Regions from separate parts of the Homo sapiens genome. Here all the other regions are linked to region 2. The links are contacts of gene promoters, found by promoter capture Hi-C in blood cells and fetal thymus (Javierre and others, 2016). All regions are on one chromosome and are shown on one strand. The core of a region is centred on a gene start or on the middle of the fragment in contact, and the rest is flanking DNA. Distances in the headings are between cores, read along the strand shown. Region 1 overlaps LY86-AS1 (LY86 antisense RNA 1). Region 2 holds the start of NRN1 (neuritin 1). Region 3 overlaps FARS2 (phenylalanyl-tRNA synthetase 2, mitochondrial). Region 4 overlaps FARS2 (phenylalanyl-tRNA synthetase 2, mitochondrial). Region 5 overlaps LY86-AS1 (LY86 antisense RNA 1).

Evidence for each region. Contacts are between HindIII fragments. The CHiCAGO score rates a contact against its expected background, and 5 or more counts as called.
Region 1: a fragment that was not itself captured here is called in contact with the fragment with the promoter of NRN1 in region 2 in 2 of 17 cell types (naive B cells and megakaryocytes); the score reaches 5.2 in naive B cells.
Region 3: a fragment that was not itself captured here is called in contact with the fragment with the promoter of NRN1 in region 2 in 3 of 17 cell types (total B cells, naive B cells and M0 macrophages); the score reaches 5.9 in total B cells.
Region 4: a fragment that was not itself captured here is called in contact with the fragment with the promoter of NRN1 in region 2 in 2 of 17 cell types (naive B cells and total B cells); the score reaches 6.6 in naive B cells.
Region 5: a fragment that was not itself captured here is called in contact with the fragment with the promoter of NRN1 in region 2 in 1 of 17 cell types (total B cells); the score reaches 5.1 in total B cells.

Annotation. Positions count from the first base shown.
Region 1 is chr6:6,528,476-6,531,175 of GRCh38, forward strand. All of the region lies in intron 3 of LY86-AS1 (LY86 antisense RNA 1), which reads right to left. Among named protein-coding and RNA genes, the nearest start is that of LY86, 59 kb to the right of the region's middle. The HindIII fragment of the contact is 1,850 bases long and covers 492-2,341 here.
Region 2 is chr6:6,005,653-6,008,352 of GRCh38, forward strand. It overlaps NRN1 (neuritin 1), which reads right to left and starts at 1,273. Exons shown (of 3, transcript NM_016588.3): 1 at 1,043-1,273. The coding sequence starts at 1,097. The HindIII fragment of the contact is 16,379 bases long and covers 1-2,700 here.
Region 3 is chr6:5,491,580-5,494,279 of GRCh38, forward strand. All of the region lies in intron 4 of FARS2 (phenylalanyl-tRNA synthetase 2, mitochondrial), which reads left to right. Among named protein-coding and RNA genes, the nearest start is that of FARS2-AS1, 35 kb to the left of the region's middle. The HindIII fragment of the contact is 3,900 bases long and covers 1-2,700 here.
Region 4 is chr6:5,443,375-5,446,074 of GRCh38, forward strand. All of the region lies in intron 4 of FARS2 (phenylalanyl-tRNA synthetase 2, mitochondrial), which reads left to right. Among named protein-coding and RNA genes, the nearest start is that of FARS2-AS1, 13 kb to the right of the region's middle. The HindIII fragment of the contact is 224 bases long and covers 1,213-1,436 here.
Region 5 is chr6:6,584,125-6,586,824 of GRCh38, forward strand. All of the region lies in intron 1 of LY86-AS1 (LY86 antisense RNA 1), which reads right to left. Among named protein-coding and RNA genes, the nearest start is that of LY86, 3.2 kb to the right of the region's middle. RefSeq lists an enhancer at 959-1,068. The HindIII fragment of the contact is 3,216 bases long and covers 1-2,700 here.

The sequences.
Region 1 (2,700 bases), core at 167-2,666, 520 kb after region 2:
CCATTGCCATGAGAAGAATATGCCCTAGCAAAGTCCACCAGTCCAAGGAGGAAGAGAGATGCAGGGAGCAAACCTGAACCAACCTAAACCTGACCCAGAGCTAAGCCTACCTAAACATCCAGCTGACCCCTGACCCAGAGCCAAGCCTGCCTAAACACCCAACTGACCCACGGATGTATCACTGATAATAAATTGCTGTGTTTTAAGTCATTTAGTTCTGTGTAAGTTTATTTCACAGCGTTCTTTTGACAACGACTGACTGATACACTAATATAGCTTTCAGTCAGTATTTAATGGCTATAAATAGTATATACATTATGTAATAGAAACTTCTAAACAGGCTTCTCTGATTTTTCCTTGTTAGTAAAGGGTGCCTCCCACTATGGAGTCCTTTAATTCCACACACTTGCTTCCACAGTCTCTTTTATAATATATATAAAATGCTAGTCAATGGGACCAAAGAAAACATCCACTAATGGACTTCTGGCAAAAGCTTTCCTCTGTAATAAAAAGAGATGCATGGGAAGCTATAACCCTCTTCTTCTACACTGGCTGTGATCATGCCTGTGTGTGATGTTCACAGCTGCTACAATCATCTTGTGGCCAGTGGGAAAAATAACACTGACTTACAGAGGACGGTAGAGCAGAAAGATGAAATTGACCCGAGTCTTTGGTTACACCACTGAGCTGCTAATGCTTCCTCTAGAACGCTTGTTGTTACATGAGACAATTTAGGTTCTTACTATTTAAGCCAATTTAAGTAGAAATGCTAAAAGCATTCATAATTATCCATGAATCTCAACTCATTTTCCCATTAATCTCAACTCCTAGATATGAACAGGCACATCCGTAAGAGGACAGATGTGATTGTGCTCATTACAATATTGTTTTCTGACAGCAAGTACCCGGAGGTTACCTAAGTGTCCGCCACTTGGAACATGGATGATTAAAATGCCAATGATGAAATGTTAGGCAATAATCAAAAGTAGTAAGCTATATCTAGATAAGAAATTTGAATAAATCTCAAAAACATGGAGTGAAGTAATAAAAGTTAAAACATAGAATAAAATATAAAACACAGTTCCATTTACTTAAAGAATGTAAACACAAGACAACATTACAAATTTTCCAACCATTCATATATATTTAAGGAAAAGTATTAAAAACATTACAGCATGTGCTTAAGTAGGATACAAGAACGTTGGCAGGATTGGGGCATGAAAAAGAAAAATAATTAATTAAAAATCTGAGTACTTATACCAGTTGTTGCTACATAATGAATTATCCTAAAAAGTAGTAGCATTTTGGCAGAATTGGGGTCTCTCTTCATTGCCTAGGCAGATCTTGAACTCCTGGCTTCAAGTGTTCCTGCCACCTTGACCTCCCAAAGTGCTAAATTACAGGCATGTGCCACCACACCTGGCCTGTAGTAGCTTTACAACAATAAATGTTTATTATCTCAAAGTTTGTATGGGTTAGGAATCCAGGCATGGCTTAGCTAGATGCTTCTGACTCATGGTCTCTCAGATGACTCCAGTCAAGGGTTGGGCTGCAGTCTCATCTGAAAGTTCAGATGACAGTCTGAGGATCCATTGTTAAGCTCACCAACATGGTTATTAGCCACAGGATTTAGTTCCTTGTGGGCTGTTGGACTAAGGGCCTGAGTTCTTCATGGCCGTTGGTTCCTTGCCATATGAGTCTCTTTATAGGGCAGCCCACAGCACAGCAGCTTGATTCCTCAGAGCAAGTGACAGAGCAGGAGATAGTATGTACAAGTTGGAAGCCACGGTCTCATGTTTGCTGTATTCAATTTATTAGAAGCAAGTCACTAGGTCCAGCCCACACTTAAGGGAAGAGTATTACATGGGGGAATGAGAACCAGGAAGTGGGGATCACTGGGGGCCACCTTAGAAGCTCCCTACCTCAGTGCCATGACCAGTGATGATCACTTATCATGAACTGAGGAGCCTAATCACTTCAACTTGGTGTTCCCATGCTCCAAAAAATGAAAGGCAAACCAGATGGCAAAAAGAACCAGTGTGGCTTTGACTTTTATATATTTGCAGATCAAGTTCTAGATAATTGACATTAAATAGTTCTTGACAGACTGAGAAGTTATTTGGGACAACATGCTGACTTTAGGTATGTAACTATTAAGAAACACAGGGGAAAAAAATCACAGTTTTTTAGGTAAGATAAAATATCAAGAAGCAGAAAGAAGAAAGTGAATATTAGTATTGTTTCTATGAAAACAGCAGCAAATCCAGATTTAATGTAAAAAATACTGTTCTATATGATAAAACTTTTTGATGTAGATTTGGATAACTCTATAATCAGAGAAAGCTTTTAAGATTCCCTTATTTAACAGGAGGAGAATCAGAGGTTCACATGGCCAGTGACTTACCTGGGGTCATTATAGGCACCTACCCTGGGTCAAGCCACTCTTTTACCAAGCAGAATTGCTTGTCAGAGTGAAAATGTGATATTTGCAGCCTCCAAGTAGAATCTAGTCTGATTCTAAATGGGCTAGACTTGGCAAAATCTTTCTTCCTTTCCCAGGAAATTTACATCAAAGAGTTAATTGCATTAAATTGCTCTGTATTTAACTTCCGTGTCTGCTAACAAGCAAAATATCAATAACAGTCTCCATTTGCTGTGTAAACCGGAGAAGGACTTCTTTTATTTTGTTTCAGTACTATT
Region 2 (2,700 bases), core at 23-2,522:
CCACAGCCTGAACTGATAGGAGGTAACAATTCCGTTTCAGGAGTTTCTTTTTTCCCCCGTGTTGTCCATTCTATTAATAACCTGCTTCACTTTCACTTTTAGGCCACGTTAATTAATGTTCTGACCCAGTGTCGGAGAAGGGGGTTTTCTAGTGCCCTCTTCTATATCTTTTCTTCATTCTGGATGGTAAAAATGTGAACTTTAAAAAGACCCCTGACAGCGTAACTACAACTCAACATTCCTTAACATAAAATGGGGACTAAATAATTCCTTCCATAACCAATCCCAAACAAACAAAAATAACAAACACCCGACATGACATATTCCAAACACTTCTTAACCCTTTCCTATATATAAAATGCAGACACCAATGTGTAAAGTAGCAGGCAAATGCATCTAGAAAAGTATATCTACGTAAATTTGGCTGAATTCATCCTCTTCAATGGTAAGCATGTTAAAATATGTGGTCTGAAGTTCCCTATCACTCTCGATTTGCCCACCAGCCGGGTCTGCGGTGCCCGTGCAAACGCTGCAGCTAGGATATAGGGGGGAGGAGGGGCGGGAGAATGACAAAGTTCTAAATGCAGCAGTCTGAGCCCTGGAATATCTTTGCTTTCAGCACATAAACTTTCCAGTCCTGGCTGCCTAGCCATTTTATTCCTGCATTCACATTTCGACTCTTCAAAATCATATCTTGCAGTATCGCAGGGGCCAGTACATTGCCCCAGAGCGCACCAAACCTGGTATAAACCCAGAAAGGGAAACAAAAATGGATGTGTGCTCAGGAAAAAGGGGGAAAAAAACCGTGTCCAGAAAATGTCCGGCCGCACACATTTCCTGGCGAACATTTGGAATCTATAGCTTTAGGAAAAACCGATCTGGGACGCGCTAGTCCCCAGGAACTGATGCCCCCACCCTCGGGGGATTGCCGGCTTCTCCGCACCCTGGGGCGGCCGCGGACCCGCTAGTCCCCCTCCGCGCCTCGGGCCGGGGCAGGCTGCCTCCCGCCTCCAGCCTCCAGCCGGGCTGAGCGGCCACTTACCTATTTGCACCGCGAGGATCAGTGAAATATATCTGCCGTTCAACTTAAGTCCCATCCTACGTTTAGTCAAACCATTTGCGACCGCAGACCTTTAAATAGTTAGTTTAGAGAACGCGGGGGAAAGCCAAAAAATAGGCATTGCCAACAAGTTCCGGGAGCGACAGAGACTTTATGCACTGGGAAGGCAGAGGGAGGAGAGAAAGAGAGGGAGCGAGGAAGAGACAGAAAGAGAGAGAGAGAGAGAAAGAGAGAGAGAGAGAGAGGCTGAGGGGGGGGGGAGAGCTGGGAATGGTTCACTCCATTAGAAGGGGGCGGAGGAAGTACAGCCTCACGCCCACGAGCAGGCCTGACGTGGGGGATGACACGGAATGATTTTTTTTTTAATATAGACACCTTGGTAGAGAATCGCCATTTATAGTCATCAGAAGCTGGAATTAATCAGATATCTCCAATTAATGTGCGATCTGAACGAAATTTTGCCTCCCGGGGGTGAGCACTTTCCTATTCTAGCGGTCACCCCTGCCTCTTCCTCGTTCCGGGGGCCCCCCAGCCCCGCCGCCTCCCTGCGCAGAACAGGGGCTCCCCCTCCCTTCCCCGCCAGGAGCTGGGGAGTCCTGGCGCGCCCACTCGATTGTTTCAACCTGCTCCCCCTCCTCCATCAGCACCACAGAGAATCCAGCCCGCTCTCTACGATGCAGGGGGGTTTAAAGGAGCGGGAGAGGGAAAAACAGCTAAGCTAGCTCGATTAATTCGAAAGCGCTCCTCGGCCGCCCGCCCCCTGCGCTTGCCTACCCTCTTTTTCTCCAACCCAGCAGCTGAGCTCTGGGCGCAGCCTGGAGCGCGTGAGCACGCAGCCCGGCCCCCCGCACGAGCACACACACACACACACACACACACACACACAAACGCGCGCGCGCACGCCCGCCAGCCGCGCCGAGCGCCCCCATGCCCGCCCGCACACAAGGCACGCGAGCGCGCGCACACGCCCAGGCCCCGGGGGTTTGGTTTGCACACGTGGGGCCCCAGAAATAAACACCGAATGTCCTCTGAATTTTACCCACCTGCGATGCCCCAGCGGGCCAAAGGCCGCTTCAAGGGACACAGCGACACCTGTTTTAGGGGGCGAGTAGGGCACCGGGGAAGGAGCCTCTGATAAGACAGTTTTCGGATACTAGTGATTTACCAACCAACTCTCAGCGCTTTAGGAAATTTCCAAGGCAAGCGCTGGTGTGCGGACTTCTTTCTAATCTTGATGCGCCTCTTGGGCTTATTTGTTGGGCTACACACACACGTACCCACACGCACACACGTACATCACGTACGCACACGCACACCCGGACCCACACACACCTGCACTGTCTTTTGATGCTCAGGCACAGACCCTGTGTAGGTGTAGCCTACCCTGCAACAAAATACTTCTGCAGCTGGCTTTGTGCTAGGTGCAAGCTGCTATCGACGACAGCTTGAGTCAAAACCGAAAAACTAACAGGGCTATTTCCTTTCTAAACGCCTTTAAGCTCTGGTTTTCTTCCTTTCTTCTGCACCAAACAGAAAAAAAAAAAGTCTAAATTGTAGCGTCTTTAATAAAATGCTAAAGAAGGCATTGGCCAGCTTTAATCCTTAAGCCTGTGGAGAGAAAAAAATGAAAACGACCCCCC
Region 3 (2,700 bases), core at 126-2,625, 510 kb before region 2:
CCATAAACACAGTGCTTCCCCATGCTGCAGGAGTCCTTCCCCGAAAGATATGAGCGTTTCTTCTTCTGCATATGCCATAGCACATTCGTCATTTTCTTACATGTTCATATTTTATAGTCATTGCTAATTTTTGTTTCCATTGTAATCTTACCCTCTTTCTCGCTAGTCCCTTTAACACCCACTGCTTCTGTACTCACCAGATATCACAGGCTACTGCCACTCTTGTGACACCTCACATGTAAGTATAAAGCACAATGAATTCCATGAAAATCATATCCAGTCAAATTAGCAGAATTTTCATAACACCTACCTCACGGTGCTATTGTAAAGATTTTTTTTTTTTCCTGGTATGTACATTCTTTTTGAGGTTAGAGATCTCCTTTTACAGGACTTAGTATCTAACAAATTCAGTAACCAAACTTCTTGACCTCCCCAATATTAGATCACTAAATGTGCAAAAGAACTACCGTTATCTAGGTCAATAAAAACTACTCATTTTCTATGAAACGGTATGTGCATAGATTTTAAAGCTGTGAAAATGCAATAAAGAGCACAACACATTTTGGTCACTTAATTAAATGACTTTTAATAAAGTAGTAGTAGTTTAAGTTTCAACTACCAAACAACACTTTGAATGGTGAAAACACAGATAGTATATTGTCATATTTGAACGCTTTTCTTTAAAAACATAATTCTAATTTGTGTATATATTACAAAACAGCCTTACAGAAAGAAGTGAGATCTTTCTACAGCACTTAAGATAACTCAATACAGGACTGATTTATTAAGATAGTGTATATTCGACTTTTCTAGCTCAAGAGATGAGTTAAAGGATAAACTCTGAAAAAGTAAAATGTATTATGTAAACATTGATAAAATATTACTATTTATTGCTGGTTTTATTTAAATGGGCATTTCTTCACAGCTTTATCTTAAGTACAGATTTAAAATTCTACCAGCAATATAATCATGTCAGCAAATATTTATTGAGTATCTGCTATGTATTAAGCATTGTACTAGGTCTGTAAATGCCAATGTTGGCAGTTGGCATATTTTCTATGAACTTTATTTTGTATTCAACAAGTATTTATCGAGCCCCTACCATGTTCTGGGCCTAGTATTGGCAGTGAATATATGAAAATGAGTAAGCTGAGAATCTCATATTCCAGGGAGTCCCAGTTGCAGAGGCTGATGTGGAGATGCACCACTGTGCCCGGCTTTCCCTGCAATCTTTTGTTTATGGAATTTGCAGAGTGGCTAGAGTGTATATAGCCTTACACTCTGCAGACCTTGCTCCTGCCCTGCCACCCACCACTTTAGGGTTTCCAATGTTATAAGCATGCCCTTGCGGGCTGGAGCTGATGTTTGCCTCTGCTTTTCCTGTAATATGGTCTCCATGGCTCACAGAGGCATCTACACATTTTTTTCCTTTGGATTGATTTTTTCTGCTATGGCCCTGTATTCTGTGTACTTATTTAGGAATGAGCCGCTTATTGGCCGGTGCCTGTAATCCCAGCTACTTGGGAGGCTGAGGCAGGAGAATTGCTTGAACCTGGAAGGTGGAGGTTGTAGTGAGCCGAGATCATGCCATTGCACTCCAGCCTGGGTGACAAGAGGGAGACTGTGTCTCAAAAAAAAAAAAAAAAAAAGAAAAAGAAAGAAATGAGCCACATATTGCACTATGTTGCTCTCTCATTACTTAACTGTTGGACAGTTGCTTTTCATTCTCATTTATTCCTCTTTTCTCCACTTAGAATTTAACATTCTAGAAGGTAGGGATCACATGTCTCTTAGTACAGTGCTCAGTGCAGAGCAACACTTAAGAAATACTGCTTTAAATGAAAGAAGGGTCTGACAAAACATTGATAGAACAAATGTCTTTTGATGTGTGGCTAGATGAAGACTGCAGTGTATCGACCTCCAAGAGGAATGGAAAGTCAAAGTCGCAGTCTCTATAGGGGACCTTATGTCTACCCCGGACCACCAAGCTGGGACTGGAGATCTAACTTCTAGCTGTATTGCCAACTAGCTCTGCGACATTGGACAGGTGACTTGATGGCTCTTAGACTGTTTCCTCATTTATAAAATGGGAGCAGTAGTATTAGCTATTCACGGAGTTGTTTTGAGGATTGAAAGACATGATGCACAGAAAGCACCCGGAATGAATGAAGGTCTCTTACATAGTAGGTGCTCACAAACGTTTAACAAATTATTTATGTTTTTCTCATAAAGCACTACAGATGTAATGACAGTTCAATGACTTTATAAAGTACAACATGCTGCACAAATATTTTACTGTCATTTGCTTTTATTTTGTCTCTTGTGTTAATGGCATACCCCTCTATATTATGAAAATACCAGTTTGGTTTAAAGACACAGTGGACAGTGTCATGTGATACAATGACAGTGAGTGCCAGCGCTATTTCAGCAGCAAGAATTATTGGAGTTCCTGTCAGAAGTTCATCTTGGGCCACTATTGGGGCCTTTCAATACTCCTTACGTTGTTTTTCTCTAGCTCTTGTTTTCTGTTTCCTCCTTTTTTTTTTCTTTTTTTTTTTTTGTGGTGTCAAGTAGGCTTTGTGAGGATGGTTTAAAATGTAGGGTATATACTCAGAGTTTAAATAGTCAGTGACTACTTGTTTGAGTCAGGTTTGGTTTTAAAAAGTAAAATTCTATGTTTTAGAACCATAATACCTTCAA
Region 4 (2,700 bases), core at 75-2,574, 560 kb before region 2:
TATCTGTGCACTTGGTTCCCTGACTTTGAAGCACTGTCTGCTATGAGAAGAATATACTTCTCTGCCCTGTTGATTTGGAGCTTGCCCCTGTAACTGCTTTGGCTAAAGGGAAATTAGCAGATGTGACAGGAAAAGAGGCTTGAAATGTACTTGGCAGTTGTTTTTTTGCCCTTTTTAGCTTCTGCCATTATGAGGTGAACATGCCCTGTGTAGCTTGCTGGTTCCAGAACAGTAAGAAGCATGTGGAGTGGACCCGAACCAACCTCAGGGCCTGGAGCCCAGCCAGTCTGGACCAGCTGAGCCCCAGCCCCGCAGACAGGTGGTGGTTGTTGCATGCCACTGAGATTTTGTAGTGATTTGTTGATCAGCTGTAGCTGGCTGATAAAACATACATTGTAGTTGTCATATTCTTTTTCAGCTTACCGAGGGCTCATAGAATGCTTAAGAGTCTCTCTTCCAAAATCATTTCACAGAAAATTCAGCTCATTTATTTCTCTCAAGTATTTCCTCTTCACCTCCCTTTCTAACTTAGCAGGAAGGATATTTGGAAAGAACTTGACTTTTTTACTTCCCTCCCTCTGCAGAGAAGCCACTGAAATAGTTTCTCAGTATTTTAGTGGGCTGTGGTGGTGGTTCTGAAAACCAGACAGGGATTGGTGGTGGGAATGTCCTCTACATGGGAGGTTTTTGAAAAGCCACTGATATATGGAAGATCCTCGTGTGTGTGTGTGTGTGTGTGTGTGTGTGTGTGTATGTGTGCATGCACGCACGTGCATATGTTCGCAATATAATCTTTTTAAAATTTTAGCGCAGGCTGGGTGCAATGGCTCAAGCCTGTAATCCGAGCACTTTGGGAGGCCAATGTGGGCGGATCACAAGGTCAGGAGTTCGCGACCAGCCTGACCAACATGGTGAAGCCCCGTCTCTACTAAAAATACAAAAATTAGCTGGGCATGGTGTCAGGTGCCTGTAATCCCAGCTACTTGGGAGGCTGAGGCAGGAGAATCGCTTGAATCCGGGAGGCAGAGGTTGCAGTGAGCCGAGATTGCGCCATTGCACTCCAGCCTGGGTGACAAGGCGTGACTCTGTCTCAAAAAAAAAAAAAAAAAAAAAAAAAAAGAGAGAGAGAGAGAGAGAGAGGAAAAAATCTTAGTGCCAGGTGTCTGAATTTAATTAGTCTCAGGTCGAAGACTCTGGAATCAGTGGAATGTAAGCTTCATTAGGGCAGGGAATTTTTTTGGTTTTGATCACTATGGTATTCCCAGTTCCTAGAACAATGCCTAGCACATAGAAGACACTCAATATCCATATATAAATTAGATGGATGGCTGTGTGGGTGGGTGGACCCCCCACTCCTCATCCCAATGTTCGTTATTCTTTCTTCAGGCTCATGGAAACAGTAAAATGGGGCGGGGGGGAACTGACCTAATTTTTGAAGCTTGCTCGTGGCTCTTTCTGCCCTCAGCTGCTCAGTACAATTCCCAGTTTCCAAGGATGGGCAGTGGGAAGCACATTGGCCTCAGAGTGAAGACCTGGCTCCAGTCAGGCCTGGCCACCAGCTGGGCTGGAGATCTTGGGCAAGTCCTGTGGGTCTCAGTTTCTTCATCTGTAAGATGAGGGGCCTAAATTATATAATTTTCAGATTTCATTTTAACTCTCAAATCTTCAACAGCCTAGAGTTTCTTAATAAAACCCATAGAGGATTGTGTTTTGTTGTATAGCACCACATAGAAAATTGCCTAGCAGCAGGACTTGGGTGTATATGGTTGGTTAATCAGGGTTTTTCTTCCTCTTAAAGAAATTCTTAGAGACCTTTAAAAAAAAAGAGAGAAAAAGAGGATGCTCATATAATTGGATTTTATTTAAACTATTTATGAAACTCTTGCTTCATGGGATCACTGCAGCTTTGCAGGCAGGTAGTGATGTGCTCTCAGTGGCTCAGTTTTATTTTCTCCCCTGCAAAAAGGCAATTTAGAAGTTTAGGAATTATTTATGGTACTGTGGGGATAAACACAATCTGCTAAGTTATTTTTCTTATATCATTTTTTTTCAAGGTTCATTCCTGTATTTTAGGCTGGAAGCAATGTCTTCATGAAATGGCCATGTTGTTATGTCCGTGAACAAAATGAGGCAATGTCATCACTAGGCAAAATTTATGCCAGGTTTTAAAATTGTGATTCTTAATTGGTATAATTCAAGAATTGGATATTACTGGGTGATTCTCAGAAATAAAGACTTGATAGTCACCTAAGTATGGCAAATGATGGTCTGAAAAAGTTTGAGTTTTCTTTACTGGAGAGTGTCTCCAAGCTCGGAAGAAGTAGCTCTGTTTGAGGGAGGGAGTGTGCCGTATTTTCCAGACTTCTTTGACCAGAGAATCCCTTCATGAAAAGATTTCTTCTATGGATCCTGTCCCAAGAAGGACACATGGGGACATGCCCATCCATTGGCTGCTGGGATTGACAGTAACCTAGGAGGCTGAAGGAAGTGTTTTCTGGGGAAGCAGGGACAAACTACAGTAAGATACTCTTTAAAAATTTTGTGGCCAGGTGCGGTGGCTCACGCCTGTAATCCCAGCACTTGGGGAGGCCGAGGCAGGCAGATCACGAGGTCAGGAGATCAAGACCATCCTGGCTAACATGGTGAAACCCCGTCTCTACTAAAAGAAATACAAAAAAATTAGCCGGGCGTGGGGGCGGG
Region 5 (2,700 bases), core at 140-2,639, 580 kb after region 2:
GAGACTAGTTTTGTTGAAGACAATTTTTCCATGGATAGAAGGGTGGATAGTGGGTAGTTTTGGAATGATTCAAGTGCATTACATTTATTGTGCACTTTATTTCTATTATTACATTATAATATATAATGAAAGAATTATACAACTCACCATAATACAGAATGAATGGGAGGGCTGAGCTTGTTTTCCTGCAACTAGATGGTCCCATCTGGGGGTGATGGGGGACAGTGACAGATCATCAGGCATTAGATTCTCATAAGGAGTGTGCAACCTAGATCTCTCGCATGCACAGTTCACAATAGGGTTTGCTTTCTTATGAGAATCTAATGCCACTGCTGATCTGACAGGAGGCAGAGCTCAGGCGGTAATGCGAGCAATGGGGAGCAGCTATAGAGATGAAGCCTCGCTCACCTCCTGCTGTGCTGCCCAGTTTGTAAGAGGTCATGGACCAGTACTGGTCTGTGGCCCAGGGGTTAGGGACCCCCTGATCTAGAAGACAAAGGCAGGATGTGATCAAACCTGTCTCTTCCCACTGCAGTGTGGCAGAAACTCAGACAGGCCACAGAGAAAAAACCAAAGTAGCAGCGCTATGCAAAGGGAAATTTTTGCCTAATATAATAAAGATCTGAGGGAAATGAGAGGAGAGCACCCACAGTCGGATACAAATGATGAGGAAGGTACATTTGCCACTGGAGACAGAGTGCTACATCATCACTGTGTAGCGTCAAGACTAGTTAGGACTGTCTGCCATCTACTGGCACATGTAATGTAGGTTACATTGGCCCAAACCCCCTTTCCCTGACCTTTTGTGGGTCACAGAGTGGAGAGGGCTGTCACATTGCACACTGCACAGGAAGCAATGCAGAATCTGTTCCTAAGGGACCTTTGCTTGTCCCACCTGCTGGCAGGCTGCTTCCCTCCACTCCACAGCAGCCAATCACCTGCTTATCTCTCCTCTCCCCTTCTCTCCTCCTCTCCTCTCCTCTCTCCCCTCCAGGCCTTTCTTTTTTCTCCCCTCACTCCCTGGAGTATTGTATTTTCTCTTGTGGCACAGCTTCACCCTTACTTGCTTACATACATAGCTGGACTCCTGCCCCCAGAGTCTCACATTTGATTCTTTAAGTCTCTCCTCAAACAAACATTTTCTCCTTAAGAACGGCTTTAGGGATGGTCATCTTGATAAGAATATTTTTACTCTGCAAGAAAAGAAAGGCACCGTCCTCAAGAAGACCTCTATGAAAGGAAAGCAAGGGTGGGTGCAGTGGCTCACGTCTGTAATCCCAGCACTTTGGGAGGCTGAGGTGGGTGAATCACCTGAGGTCAGGAGTTCAAGACTAGCCTGGCCAACACGGCAAAACCCTGTCTCTACTAAAAATACAAAAATTAGCTGGACATGGTGGTACACGTCTATAATCCCAGCTGCTTGGGAGGCTGAGGCAGGAGAATCACTTGAACCCGGGAGGCAGAGGTTGCAGTGAGCTGAAATCATGCCACTGCACTCCAGCCTGGGTGACAGAGTGAGACTTCGTCTCAAAAAAATAAAATAAAATTATATATATATATATATGAAGGAGAGCAGTGTGAGACATGGAAGAAGAGGAGGATTGTCCAAAAAGTAGAAAAGAAATCTGAATGAGACCAGAGCACAGCTTCTTCAGCTACAGCCTGCTAAGAGATTAGAAGTCAGCATCAAAGCCTGACAGTATGTGTGTGTTTGGTTACCATTACGTAGACATAACCATATTTTAAATAACTACCATAAACCGATTCTAATTTTATTCTATAATTAGGGAATAGGACATTCTCAAAGAACACTCTGGCTGTCTTTATAAAGGTTCTAGTTAAAGAACTCCAGACATCATTATGGGTTGATTTCTGAACTAGACGGCCATAACTAATGATTTCAATCAAATCCCATTTTCAGTAGGCAGAACTAGTAAGTAGAATTCCTTAGAGAATGTGGCTTACTCTTAATCCTATATGGGTATGTTATATATGTGTTATATAAAATGCCATCTGTCATAAAACAAAACATTTTATTAAGAAGATTTTTTTTAATTGTACATTCTGCAAATGATCAAATTCTGTAAGCTAAACCAGAGGTCCTCAGAATGTGGCCCCAGATCAACAACACTGGCATCACCTGGGAACATGTTAGAAACACAGGTTCTCAGGCCTCACCAGACACACAGGAGCAGAAACTCTGGGGTGGGGTCCAGCAATCTGCATGTTAACAAGCCCCCCAGCTGACGCTGATGCCCTGAAGACCACTCTAGCCTGAAGACCAATGTCCTAGGGTCACCATGATCACAAGGTTCCTGATTGGTCCATTTGGAATATTTCTAAATGCTAGTGCGATCCCTGAATTATGATTCCTTTCATTTCCAGGTCTTTTGATTCTCAAGAATCTGTACCCCTGTCTTCAGATGACACTGTTTCTGCAATAAAGCCAATGTTTGTGGCCCTGCCCAAACTCATATGTTGAAATCCTAAGCCTCAAGGTGATGGTATTAGGAGGAAAGGCCTTTGGGAGGTGATTAGGTCATAAGAATGGAGCTCTCATACATGGGATTAGTGCCTTTATAAAAGAGGCCTAAGAGAAACCCTTCGCCCCTTCCACCATGTGAGGGCACAGCCAGAAGGCACCATTTGTGAACCAGAGGCCCCTCACCAGACACTGAATCTTCTAGCACCTTAATCTCC